2 separate regions of the Homo sapiens genome follow, and region 1 is linked to region 2. The links are contacts of gene promoters, found by promoter capture Hi-C in human tissues and cell types (Jung and others, 2019). All regions are on one chromosome and are shown on one strand. Each heading gives the region's core, a stretch centred on a gene start or on the middle of the fragment in contact. The rest is flanking DNA. Distances are from core to core; before and after follow the strand shown.

The links. The method cuts DNA at HindIII sites, captures the fragments that hold promoters and counts their contacts. A contact is called where the count stands out against the background at its distance.
Region 1: a contact is called between a fragment that was not itself captured here and the fragment with the promoter of ZNRF4 in region 2, in 2 of the 25 tissues and cell types used here (IMR-90 fibroblasts and mesendoderm cells).

What each region holds. Positions count from the first base shown.
Region 1 is chr19:5,552,372-5,559,041 of GRCh38, reverse strand. It overlaps TINCR (TINCR ubiquitin domain containing), which reads left to right. Exons shown (of 3, transcript NM_001396408.1): 3 at 1-875. Among named protein-coding and RNA genes, the nearest start is that of TINCR, 12 kb to the left of the region's middle. The HindIII fragment of the contact is 4,976 bases long and covers 2,483-6,670 here.
Region 2 is chr19:5,451,679-5,457,647 of GRCh38, reverse strand. ZNRF4 (zinc and ring finger 4) reads right to left here and starts at 2,231. Exons shown (of 1, transcript NM_181710.4): 1 at 792-2,231. The coding sequence starts at 2,156. The coding sequence ends at 867. The HindIII fragment of the contact is 14,927 bases long and covers 1-3,485 here.

The DNA of each region.
Region 1 (6,670 bases), core at 3,721-6,220, 99 kb before region 2:
TGGACCTGTCCCTTGATGATGACCTGGGTCGGGAGGTGCACGGCCTTTTCCTTCCTCCGTCTTCCCTTCCCTTCCCTTCCCTTCCCATCTGTTCTCCCTTCCTTCGCCCCCTTCCTTTCCTCTCCCTCCCTATCTTCCATTTTTCTCTTCTTCCTTCACATCATTTGTCCAAGACCTCCCTGGCCTGAGATAAACATAAGTTGCAAAAGTGGCTTCCTGCAGCCCATTTTCCAGGTTGGGAAACTGAGGCATGGGCCTAAGGTCCCACAGCCACACCGAGGAAAGCAGCCCCCACTGAATGTCACCATGCACCAAAGTGCATGGTCCTCGTGACACAAAGAGGGGAGATGACAGTGGCTGGAGTTGTCAGAGCTGCTTTGAGGAAGCTCCAGGCCTGATAGGCTTGACAGGGCCAAGGGGAACTATTGTGGAATGTCTTGGCCTTGAATGACAGGCTGCTGATTTTGGATCTGGAGAAAGCTCACACTGACTCTTCCTGCTCCCCCAGTCTGTTTTTCTCCTGCTACTCCATCCATGTATCCCTGAGTTTGGGCCACAGTCCCTCCACTTGGTTTGCATGTCCCACCTTCTTTGTTTGGCAAGCTCCTATTCATCCTTCAAAGCCCTAGCTTCAATACCTGCTACTTCATGCAGCCATTGCTTATCCTTCAAGGAGAGCCTACTTCCCTCAAGGACCCTGCTGCTTCCAGTCTCACCTTCTGACTCACTCGGGATCCACTGAACTGGGAGGTCTGTGTCTCCTCCCAGCAGAGTCATCACTACCTTTGGGGCCGCAGGATCACCCAGCTTGGAACTAGATACAGAAATGCTGTTTTGAGAGTGTACTGAATAAAAGATTACATGTTTGAAAACAAGATTGAGTTTAAGCTTCCTAACTTGGCCTTGGAGCTCTCTTGGGCTTCATTCTACCCCATCTATGGTTTTGGGCTGAGCTCTACTTCTACCTTCCTCTCACTCCCCTCCAGGCCTTTGCACATGCTGTTACTCCAGGTGACGCTGTTACTCCAGGTGACACTGTTACTCCAGTTGACCCCAGGCCAGCCCCCTCCCATATCTGGGCTGTGAAACTCAGGGAATCCTGCTCGCTCCCCGCCAGGGCCTCTCAGACTCTGGGCTCCACCCTGAGCAAGTCTGGGCTATGAGGAGTTTCGGGTGAGACTTGGCAGCTGCCGTCTCGCTAAGGCCCGCGGCGTTCTGGGGAGGGGCCACCTCCCGTCTTGGCCGCCCACCTAGTTTGTGCTCCAAGAAGGTCCAAGGGAATTCTCCTAGGGGGCAAGTGAGCCCAGGCGGTTCCCAGAGGAGATGTCAGCGGTTTAGCCAGAAACTGCCAGGACCTGGAATTGCCACTTCCTTCCTGCCCTGCCTCTATCTCTCTGTTCTCTTTCTGTGCGACTCCAGGCTGGGCTCTGGCATTCTCCTAACTCTGAGCATTCATTCAATGAGAGATATAAAGACAGATGCTGCTCCGGCTGCCACAGACAGTGGGGCAGGTTGTTCACTGCACAAGAGGACCCAGCTGCAGAGGTGAGAGGGCCCCAGGAAGGGGCCCTTCTTTGTAATTCATCCAACAGCTCCCATACAAGTTAGTGCTGGTTCTGACCTTGCCATCTTTCTTTCTCTCTCTCTCCTCTCCCTTCATCTGTCTCTGTGTCTCAGTCTCTTATTTTATTTTTGTTGAGACAGGGTCTTGTTCTGTTGTCCAGGCTGGAGTGCGGTGGCACAATCACAGATCACTGCAGCCTCAACCTCCCCAGCTCAAGCGATCCTCCCGCCTCAGGCTCTTGAGTAGCTGGGATTTTAGGCACACGCCACCACACCCAGCTAATTTTTAAATTTTTGTAGAGATGGGGTTTCGCCATGTTGCCCAGGCTGTTCTCAAACTCCTGGGCTCAAGCCATCTACCCGTCTCGGCCACCCGAAGTGCTGGGATTGCAGGCATCAGCCACTGCGCCCGGCCTCTTTTTCATCTGCTCTCTGTCGCTCCATTTCTGTCTGTGGTTCTGTTTGTATCTCGTTATCTCTCCCTCTCTTCAATATCTCTCTCTCTGCGTTTCTCAGTTCGTCTGCATCTCAGTCTCTGTCTCTCTCCATGTCTCTGTATTTTTTTCTCAAATCTCCTATTGAAAAAGACCCCTCTTTCCCTAGGCCAGGCTCAGTGGCTCATGACTATAATCCCAACACTTTGGGAGACCGAGGCAGGAGGATTGCTTGAACCTAGGAGTTCGAAACCAGCCTGGGAAACATGGCGAGACCCAGCCTTTACAAAAGCATTTAAAAATTATCCAGGTGTGGTGGCATGCCCCTGTGGTCCCAGCTACTTGGGAGGCTGAGGCAGGAGGATCACTTGAGCCCAGGAGTTTGAGACCACGGTGAGCTATAACCATACCACTGCACTCCAGACTGGGTGACAGAACGAGACCCTGTCTCTAGAAAAAAAAAAAAAAAGAAAAAATAGGCTGGGCGCGGTGGCTCACTTTGGGAGGCTGAGGCGGGCGGATCACGAGGTCAGGAGATTGAGACCATCCTGGCTAACACAGTGAAAAATTAGCTGGGTGTGGTGGCGGGTGCCTGTAGTCCCAGCTACTCGAGAGGCTGAGGCAGGAGAATGGCGTGAACCCGGGAGGTGGAGCTTGCAGTGGGCCGAGATTGCGCCACTACACTCCAGCCTGGGCGACAGAGCAAGACTCCATCTCAAAAATAAATAAATAAATAAATAAAAATAAAATAAAAAATTAAGAAATATAACATTAAAATTTAAAAAATAAATAATGAAAACATTAGTTGGCTGGGCACAGTGGCTCATGCCTGTAATCCTAGCACTTTAGGAGGTCAAGGCTAGAGGATTGCTGGAGGCTAGGAGTTCGAGACCAGCCTGGACATGGGCAACATGGCAAAACCCTGTCTCTACTAAAAATACAAAAAAATAGCCAGGCGTGGTGGTGGTGCACACCTGTAGTCCCAGCTACTTGGGAGGCTAAGGCAGGAGAATGGCGTGAACCCGGGAGGCGGAGCTTGCAGTGAGCCGAGATTGTGCCACTGCACTCCAGCCTGAGTAACAGAGCAAGACTCCATCTCAAAAAAAAAGAAAAAGAAAAAAAGACCCCCTTTCCTTCCAATATCGTAAGCATGACCTCTGGGGTGTCTTCAGAAGCTGCTGGGATCATGCATTCCACAATCACTGATTAAGCACCTCCAGTTTGCAGGGCTCTGAGGACAGCGTGGTGACTAGGATACCCAGTCAAGCTCCCCACGGAGTTCACGGCCCAACAAAAGCCACAGAAGCTGCAGGGCAAGCGCATGGCCCCTGAGACTCCCCAGAAACCTCTCCCACACACAACCTTCCTCTGAATGACCTTGGGTGTTCTTTGTCCCTCGCTGGGCCTCAGTTTCCCTGCCTGCCCAAGAAGGGAAGTGTTTGGGATAGCCAGGCATTCGGTGTTTGCTGGCAGACAAATCCTGACTAACCCCCGTGCCCAAATGGATTTGAAAGAACCCTCAAAAAGGAAAACAGTCATAAGAAAGAAAAAAAAACCCGGCCAGGCGCAGTGGCTCACTCCTGTAATCCCAGCACTTTGGGAGGCTGAGGCGGGCAGATCACGAAGTCAAGAGATCGAGACTATTCTGGCCGACATGGTTAAACCCTGTCTCTACTAAAAATATAAAAATTAGCCAGGCGTGGTGGCAGGCGCCTGTAGTCCTAGCTACTTGGGAGGCTGAGGCAGAATTGCTTGAACCCGAGAGGCGGAGGTTGCAGTGAGCCAAGATCACGCCACCGCACTCCAGCCTGGCAACAGAGCGAGACTCCGTCTCAAAAACAAACAAACCAAAAAAAAAAAAAAAAAACAACACAGAGCCGACCACTGACCTTGCAGGGTGATGCACCTGGGGCAGAAGCAGCCTCACTACCACCCCTTGGAGCATCACGGAAACTTATCCATCTCTTTCCTTGGTGGCCCCTGGCTATCCACTGAAGGCTGCTGGCCTCACTATGAGGGCTCCAGGCCTGGCCCTGAGGTCCCCTGACTTGGCACTGACCTCACACTTGTGCTTTAAGCTTCAGACCTACTAAACCCCTTGCTGGGCTCCAGCCACAAGGTTTTTTTCACAGGCTATTTCTTTTCTTTTCTTTCTTTTTTTTCTTTTTTTGAGACAGAGTCTAGCTCTGTTGCCCAGGCTGGAGTGCAATGGCGCTATCTTAGCTCACTGCAACCTCCACCTCCTGGGTTCAAGCGAACCAGGAGGTGAGAATCCTGTCTCAGCCTCCTGAGTAGCTGGGACTACAGGCACACATCGCCATGCCCTGCTAATTTTTGTATTTTTAGTAGAGACGGGGTTTCACCATGTTGGCCAGGCTGGTCTTCAACTCCTGACCTCAGGTGATCCGCCCGCCTTGGCCTCCCAAAGTGCTGTGAGCCACCGCACCCAGCCTGCATGGGCTATTTCTGTATATGAAATACCCTCTCCCAACCTTTCACCTTTCACCCTGTGATTTGCAGGTTCAATGTCACTTCCTTGGGGAGGCCCCCAAAACAAGTTATGTTCCTGTTGTTTTGTATTCTCACAACATCTTGTTCTTTTCCTTTGTAGCATTAATTATTTATATTATTATTCATTCAATGTATGTTTTCCCCACTAGCCTGTGGGCACCATGAAGACGGGGAAGAGGTCTGGTTTGGTCACTGCTGCAGTACACAGCGTTTAATAACCCAGCGCCAGGGAGCGGTGGGGAGCCAGGAACACCTTTGCTCCCTTCCCAGGCTCAATGAGGCCCCCTCTCCACCATAGTTCCTGCCACCACTGGGCCTTGGTCCAGGTGACCAAGGGGCACGGAGGTTTGGGATTGGGATTCCAGGCACTCTGGCTCCTGCCGCCGTGATAAATGGGGAGAATTCAGAATTAATTATCGACTGCTCTGCTGAGCCGGCCTGATCTGGGCAGATAAAGAGCGTGGGCGCCACTGCATCTGCCCAGCGCTTCTCAGAAGTTTATTAGAGGATGGGAGGCAGTTGGCTGATGGGAGGAGTCTGGAATGCATTAGAGCCAGAGCTGCTGGGGGCAAGGCTGTGGCTCTGCTGGGCCACTTGGGGCAACACGCTCTTCCTCTCTGAGCCTTGGTTTTCTCATTTGGAAAAAGGGAAGTAAAAAAGAAAATCCTACCCCAGCAGTTTGGGATGCCAAGGTGGGCGGATCACCTGAGGTCATGAGCTCGAGACCAGCCTGGACAACATGGCGAAACCCTGTCTCTACTAAAAATACAAAAATTAGCTGGGTGTGATGGCGGATGCCTGTGATCCCAGGTACTTGGGAGGCTGAGGCACTAGAATCCCTTGAACCCGGGAGGCGGAAGTTGCTGTGAGCCGAGATTGCACCACTGACCTCTCTGAGCCTTGGTTTTCTCATTTGGAAAAAGGCAAGTAAAAAAAAAAAAAAACAGCCGGGCGCGGTGGCTCACGCCTGTAATCCCAGCACTTTGGGAGGCCAAGGCAGGCGGATCATGAGGTCAGGAGATTGAGACCATTATGGCTAACACGGTGAAACCCATCTCTACTAAAAATACAAAAAAATTAGCCGGGCGTGGCAGCGGGCGCCTGTAGTCCCAGCTACTCCGGAGGCTGAGGCAGGAGAATGGCGTGAACCCGGGAGGCGGAGCTTGCAGTGAGCCGAGATCGCGCCGCTGTACTCCAGCCTGGGCGACAGAGCGAGACTCCGTCTCAAACAAAAAAAAAAAAAGAAAAGAAAAATCCTTATATGTTGAGATAAGTTTTTTGGGGAATCACCAAGAGCAAAGAAAGCAAAGTACACAGTAGGTTTCATGCGTGTCCATGTGAAGAGACCACCAAACAGGCTTTGTGTGAGCAGCATGGCTGTTTATTTCACCTGGGTGCAGGCCGGCTGAGTCCGAAAAGAGAGTCAGCGAAGGGAGATAGGGGTGGGGCCGTTTTATAGGATTTGGGAAGGTAATGGAAAATTACAGTCAAAGGGGGTTGTTCTCTGGTGGGCAGGGGTGGATCTCACAAAGTACATTCTCAAGAGTGGGGAGAATTACAAAGAACCTTCTTAAGGGTGGGGGAGACTACAAAGTACATTGATCAGTTAGGGTGGGGCAGGAACAAATCACAATGGTGGAATATCACCAGTTAAGGCTGTTTTTACTTCTTTTGTGGATCTGCAGTTACTTCAGGCCATCTGGATGTATACGTGCAAGTCACAGGGGATGCGATGACCTGGCCTGGGCTCAGAGGCCTGACATTCCTGCCTTCTTATATTAATAAGACAAATAAAACAAAATAGTGTTGAAGTGTTGCAGCGGCGAAAATTTTTGGGGGGTGGTATGGAGAGAGAACGGGCGATGTTTCTCAGGGCTGCTTCGAGCGGGATTAGGGGCGGCGTGGGAACCTAGAGTGGGAGAGATTAAGCTGAAGGGAGGTCTTGTGGTAAGGGGTGATATTGTGGGGATGTTAGAAGAAACATTTGTCGTATAGAATGATTGGTGATGGCCTGGATACGGTTTTCAATGAACTGAGAAGCTAAACGGAAGATAGAAGGTCTGAAGAAAAGGAGGAGAAAAATGGGTATTAAAGGACTAAGAATTGGGAGGGCCCAGGACATCCAATTAGAGAGTGCCCAAGGGGGTTCAGCGTAATTACTT
Region 2 (5,969 bases), core at 982-3,481:
TTGGCTAATGAATTTTTTTTTCTTTTTTGAGACGGAGCCTCACTGTCGCTAGGCTGGAGTGCAGTGGCGTGATCTCAACTCACTGCAACCTCCACCTCCTGGGTTCAAGCAATTCTCCTGCCTCAGCCTCCTGAGTAGCGAGCAGCTGGGACTACAGGCACGCACCACCACGCCCAGCTCATTTTTGTAGTTTTTAGTAGAGACAGGGTTTCACCATGTTGGCCAGGATGGTCTTGATCTCCTGACCTCATGATCCGCCCGCCTTGGCTTCTTAAAGTGCTGGGATTACAGGCGTAAGCCACTACGCCCGGCCTAAGAAAATTTTTTTGTAGAGGTGGGGTCTTGTTATGTTGCCCAGGCTGGTCTCAAACCTCTAACCTTGAGCGAACCTCCCACCTCGGCCTCCCATCCCATCACACCTGGGATCCCATGAGACATAAGAGGAAACGGAGTAAAAGGGGTTGGAGAACTCTATGGCACCTTTGCAACTTTTCTGGAAATCTAAACCAGTTCCAAAATAAAACGTTTATTTTAAAAGAAAAAATGTGAATGAAGAATAAGGCCATCCAGGATGAGTGACCCGTGTGCCCGGGACTGGAACCAAAGCACAGACGACCCGTCTCAAAGCCACTCCGGCACCACGGTCACAGCCGCCCCAAAAAGGCCCCCCAGCCCTCACCACCCCTCGCTCTCCCGCCCGCAGAAACGGGGATTGGCCTTAGGCTTGATGGGGATGGGTGTCCCCCAACCCCAGTCAGAGGCGGGTGGCCCAACAGCAGCGAGGCTGAGAATCCGCTTTCAAACCCACTTTATTCTTTTCAGACCAGAAACATTCCTCATTGCACCCCCCTCCCTGCCCTAGATCTTTACTGACCAGGGGCCTCAGGAGGGGCTGAGGAGACAGTGGTATACTCTGCCTCCAGGGACGTGGTGCTGCAGTGGCAGTGGGGACTGGCGCGGCCCAGCAGCTCCAGCCTCCGGGAGCGTAGCTGGACTTGAATGGCCCAGATGGGGGGCCGGTGGCCCGGTAGGGAGGGGTCCTCGTCCCTGAAGCTGTAGGTGGTGGAGTCAAAGCTGTCTTCTGTGGCGGCCACCGACTGTTTGCACACGGGGCAGGAGCGCCGGGGGGCTTGGGAGAACCAGGGGTCAATGCATTTGCAGTGGTAGGTGTGGGAGCAGGGCAGGATCTTGAGTTGGTCGCCCTCCTCATACTCATCCAGGCAGATGGCACACAGGTCGTTGTGCCACGTGAAGGTGCGGACCTGGGCCTTCTGGCAGGTAGACGTCTTCACCGGCCGTCTGTGGCTGCAGCAGGCCTGGGCCCAGAGCCACAGGTGGTTCAGGACAAAGAAGGCTGATACGACCAGGGCCAGGGTACAGCCCAGCACCCAGGACACGGTCAGCACGGGGTGACAGCCCAGGTCGTGGCACGGTGGGTCGTCGGGCAGGAGCAGCGCGTGGGCCGACTTGTTGCAGCCCAGGATGACCCGCAGGTCCTGCGAGGCGGCCTCGCTCACGAACACTGAGGGGATGGCGATCTGGCCCCTCAAGTCCTCGTAGACGTGGGTCATGCTCACGAGGTCGTCGGAGTGGACGTTGTGCACGATGGCCGCCTCGAAGCCGGCGCGCTGGGCGTTCAGCACCTTGAGGTCGAAGGTGCAGTCGTAGCGGCGGATCAGCACGATGGCGCCCAGAGAGCGGTTGCCCAGTCGCGGGGCCTCGATGGGATGGCACGCGTTGGCTGGCTTGACCTCCATCAGGTAGCCCCGTATGCCCTCGGGGGCCAGGGGGACGCCGAACAGCGCCGGCAGATCCGCAAAGTCCACCGAGCTCGAGTTGTCTTCCAGCACGGCCCGTACCACTGCCTGCGCGGGCACCTGGAGCAGCGACAAGACCAGCAAGGCTTTGACTGCCACGAGGGCTCGGCCCGGCCGTGGCCACCCCATGGTCACCCGCTTCGCTGTCTGTGTGCTGCTAGGTCCCACTGGAGGCGGCAGGCATGAGGCCTTTGGGCATCTCCGGGGTCTCCCAGGGGGCCTGTGGCCAGGACGCGAGGGCAGTTGAGTTGGAATGACCGCGTGGCTCAGAGGCAGTGACGCGGCCACTGGGACCCTGCTGGCTCTAGGCATTAAGTGCTCCGGACGGCAGAGCGGCATGCGTCGTGTCTTTGAAGGCCGGTCTCAGGAGGTGCTGGCGCAGGTGGCCTTTCTGGCAGATGACATGGAGACCAGGAGTCACCAGGGTTCTAGATGCCCCCAGCTTCTGTGACATCGCCCTGCTACATTCTGTCCCAGGAGCTGCCAGCTGCCTGGGCCTGTGGCCAATGGATCATTCCTAGGTCTGTGATTTGCCGGTACCCGGGCAAGCTTTGAGATAACTTCTTGAAGGCTCAGGGTATCTTTGGACCCAAGGAGGCCCAGGGATGCTTCAAAAGGGCTGCCGGCCCCCAGCAGTGCAGATTCAGCCCTCACTGTGCGAAGACGCTACCAGCATCAGCTTCTGGAGGTTCCTAGCAACACACTGTAGAAGGTTCAATGTTACCCTTGTCTGAGACTCCAAGAGTGACCCAGACTTGTTCAAGCCACGCCCCCCTACAATGAGATCAGTGCTTAAAACCCAAATTCCTGACCCCCTGTCACCATCCCTCACTCTGCTCCAGCCACACAGATCTCCTTGCTGTTCCTCCAACACACCAGGCAGGATCCTGCCCCAGGGCCTTTGCATGGGCTGGGCCTCCTGCCTGGAAAGCCCTTTCTCTCCGTAGCTGGCTCTTTTATCCGGACTCAGGTCTGAGTCCATATATCCTCAGAGCCCTCCTGGACTTGATTTGGAGGGAGAGTCAAGTGCCAGGGTCAGGGTGGGGCTGGTGGGGGTCAGTGGTCCCAAGTCCGCACCGCCAGGTTGGCCTCCAGGCTTGCACCAGCTTCATTCTCTCTCCCTATAGCATTGCCTCTCCAGCTGGGTCTCCAACTGTGCCCCCTGCCTGAGCTTCAGCCCTGGGCATCAGCCTCACCTCCTCCCCAGTCCCCATCCCCCAAATTTCACACCCTCAATCTGTCTGCAGCCCACTCAAGTCGGATTTCTGTCTCTGCCATTCATAAGCTGTATGACATCAGCTAAATTCCTTAGCCTCTCTGGGCCTCAGCTTCCAGACCTGTAACATAGTCTTTCCCATGCTCTAAACTCTCCCATGGCTCCCCATTGCCCTCCAGATAAAGCCCACACTCTTCTCTGTGGCCTACATGCACCCCTGTGGTTGGGCGCCTGCCAATCTCTGAAGCCTGGATGATTTGCAATGTCCCAGAGGCATCTTGCTTTGTTCACCTCTAGAATTTTGCAAATGCTGTTCCCTCTGCCTGGAACAGAATTCTTGCTCCTCAACTTCACTTTGCCAGGCTGACTACTTAGTCTTTAGATTTTCTGTGTTGGCCTAATACCTCTCAGAGCAGCCCTCAGCCAGTGACAGATGGGAGGTGGTAGATAAATGCCCCCACTCCCTCGTCCCTCTTATGGGACAAATCGAAGTATGTTCTACCATATCTCCTAGAGGTCCCCAGTCGAATGAGCTCCATAAGTCAACGAACCCAGTACTGTCTTGTCAATGAGCCCGCTACTGTCTCCTTCCCTTCCCCACCCACTTCTCTCCCCTCCCACAGCTTCTGAGATCACCTCCCACACAAATCTCTTGTACCATGTAGTGGGTGGGCCCCAAATAGAGATGTTGAACCCCTAACCCCTGGTTCTGACCAACCCCTGTGAATGGACCTTATTTGGAAATAAGATCTTTGCAGAGGTTTTCCTTCTAAGAAAGGGAGAAAAGGCCGGGCATGGTGGCTCATGTCCGTAATCCTAGCACTTTAGGAGCCCGAGGCGGGCAGATCAGTTGAGGCCACGAGCACATGCTGCCATGCCCGGCTAATTTTTGTATCTTAATAGAAACGGGGGTTTTGCTAGGTTGCCCAGGCTTGTCTCGAACTCCTGACCTCAAGTGATCTGCCAGTCTCAGCCTCCCAAAGTGCTGGGGTTACATTTGTGAGCCACCATGCCCGGCCCCTGGTGGCACTCCTGCCCCTGCTCTGTCTACTGCCACAGACGGAGGCCACACTATCTAGAGGCCACTGCCTTGGCCACTGTGGATGGCCCTTGCAGCCCAGTGCTACCAAGCAGAGGCAGGTTTTTCAGTCCAGCAGGCATGAGAGGAGGCAAGAGTGGAAAAACAGAAGCAGAGAGGGACAAATGTAGCGGTCAGGCTCGGGTTGGCTGTGGTAAGCAAGACCCAACCACAGCGGTGTAGGCGTACAGGGCTGATTTGCTTCTGAATGTGGAATGTGAGTAGTCATTCCTGGGATGGCATGGAGATGCTGGGGTGTCTGCAGCCCAGACTCCTTCCATCCACCATATCCTCAGTAAATGGCCTCCTCCTCGTGGGACAAGGCAGGTGCGTGAGCTCCAGCCATCACATCTGCCTCCCAGGCAATGAGGAGGAAAGAGTGAGGAAGAGCTCACCCTGTCCCTTTAAGGACACTTCTTGGAAATCCCAGGCACCACTTCTGCTCACACTGCATTGGCCAGAATTAGTCACGTGGCCATGCCTGGCAGAAAGCTTGCTGGGAAATGTAGTATTTATTCTGAATGGCCAACTGTGCAGCTGAAAACCAGGGCTTCTATTACTATGGAGGACAAGACAACAGATGTTGGAGGCGTCCAACACCACCTGTCACTCGGACACACTTGAGTAACCTGGCCTTCAATGGCTGCCCAATACATATTTGTTGAATGAATGAATCCCCACACCTCCAGCTTAGGCCTCCTTCAGTGGTGAGTGAGCTCACTGTCCCTGGGGATGGAAATGAGCTTTTCCCGGGCCCTTCTGTGCACCAGACTCCAGGCCATGTGGCTTCACTCCACCATTCAGCCACTGTGAGCCTCAGTTGCCCCTTCTGTAAAGAGGAGGCAGCATCAGCACCTGCACTGCGGGGTTCGCTGAGCATGGACGGTGCTAAGCATAGTGCCTACCACGTACGAAGTGCTCTGTTTGCATTTGTTGATGGCCTAAGTGACCTGCCCACAGCCCAGTTATAATATTGGGTGATCACAGCTACTCGGGAGGCTGAAGCGGGAACATCGCTTGAGCCTGGGAGTTTGAGGCTGCAGTGAGCTCTGATCATGCTGTGGCACTCCAGCAGCGGGCCACAGAGCAAGACCCCACCTCTAAAAATAAAATATTGAGTGATCAAACTGTGATGGGGAAAACTCAGGCACCGTGCCAACCCAAAGGGAGGCACCTGGCTTATTCTTTTTTTTTTTTTTTTTTTTGAGACGGAGTCTCGCTGTGTCGCCCAGGCTGGAGTGCAGTGGCACCATCTCAGCTCCCTGCAAGCTCTGCCTCCCAGGTTCACGGCATTCTCCTGCCTCAGCCTCCCGAGTAGCTGGGACTACAGGCGCCCACCACCATGCCCGGCTAATTTTTTGTATTTTTAGTAGAGACGGGGTTTCACTGCATTAGCCAGGATGGTCTCGATCTCCTGACCTCGTGATCCGCCCGCATCGGCCTCCCAAAGTGCTGGGATTACAGGCATGAGCCACCGCGCCCGGCCGCACCTGGCTTATTCTAGAGAATCTAGAAGGCTTCCTGGAGGTGGTGTCTTCTAGACTGAGATCAGAATGAGCAGTGGATAGTGCTATGAACAGGAAACGCGATCCTGGCAGCTAGAACAGCACGGGCAAACGCCCTGCCTGAGTAGCCTGGTCTGGCATCCAGTAGATGCTTAATAAGTGAACATAGAACTCCTTGCCATCACTCAGGGCCTGCCCCCTCTGAAAAAGGGTCTCAGCTTCATCCCAGCTTCCTCAGTCCCCCAACAGCCAGGCCTGGGCCCTTCTCCAGACGCCTCCACGAAAGCAGAGTGGTGCCAAGGACTGGCAGCTTAACGAGGCCGGCCTGTGCCAGCCCCGCCAGCCCCCACCTT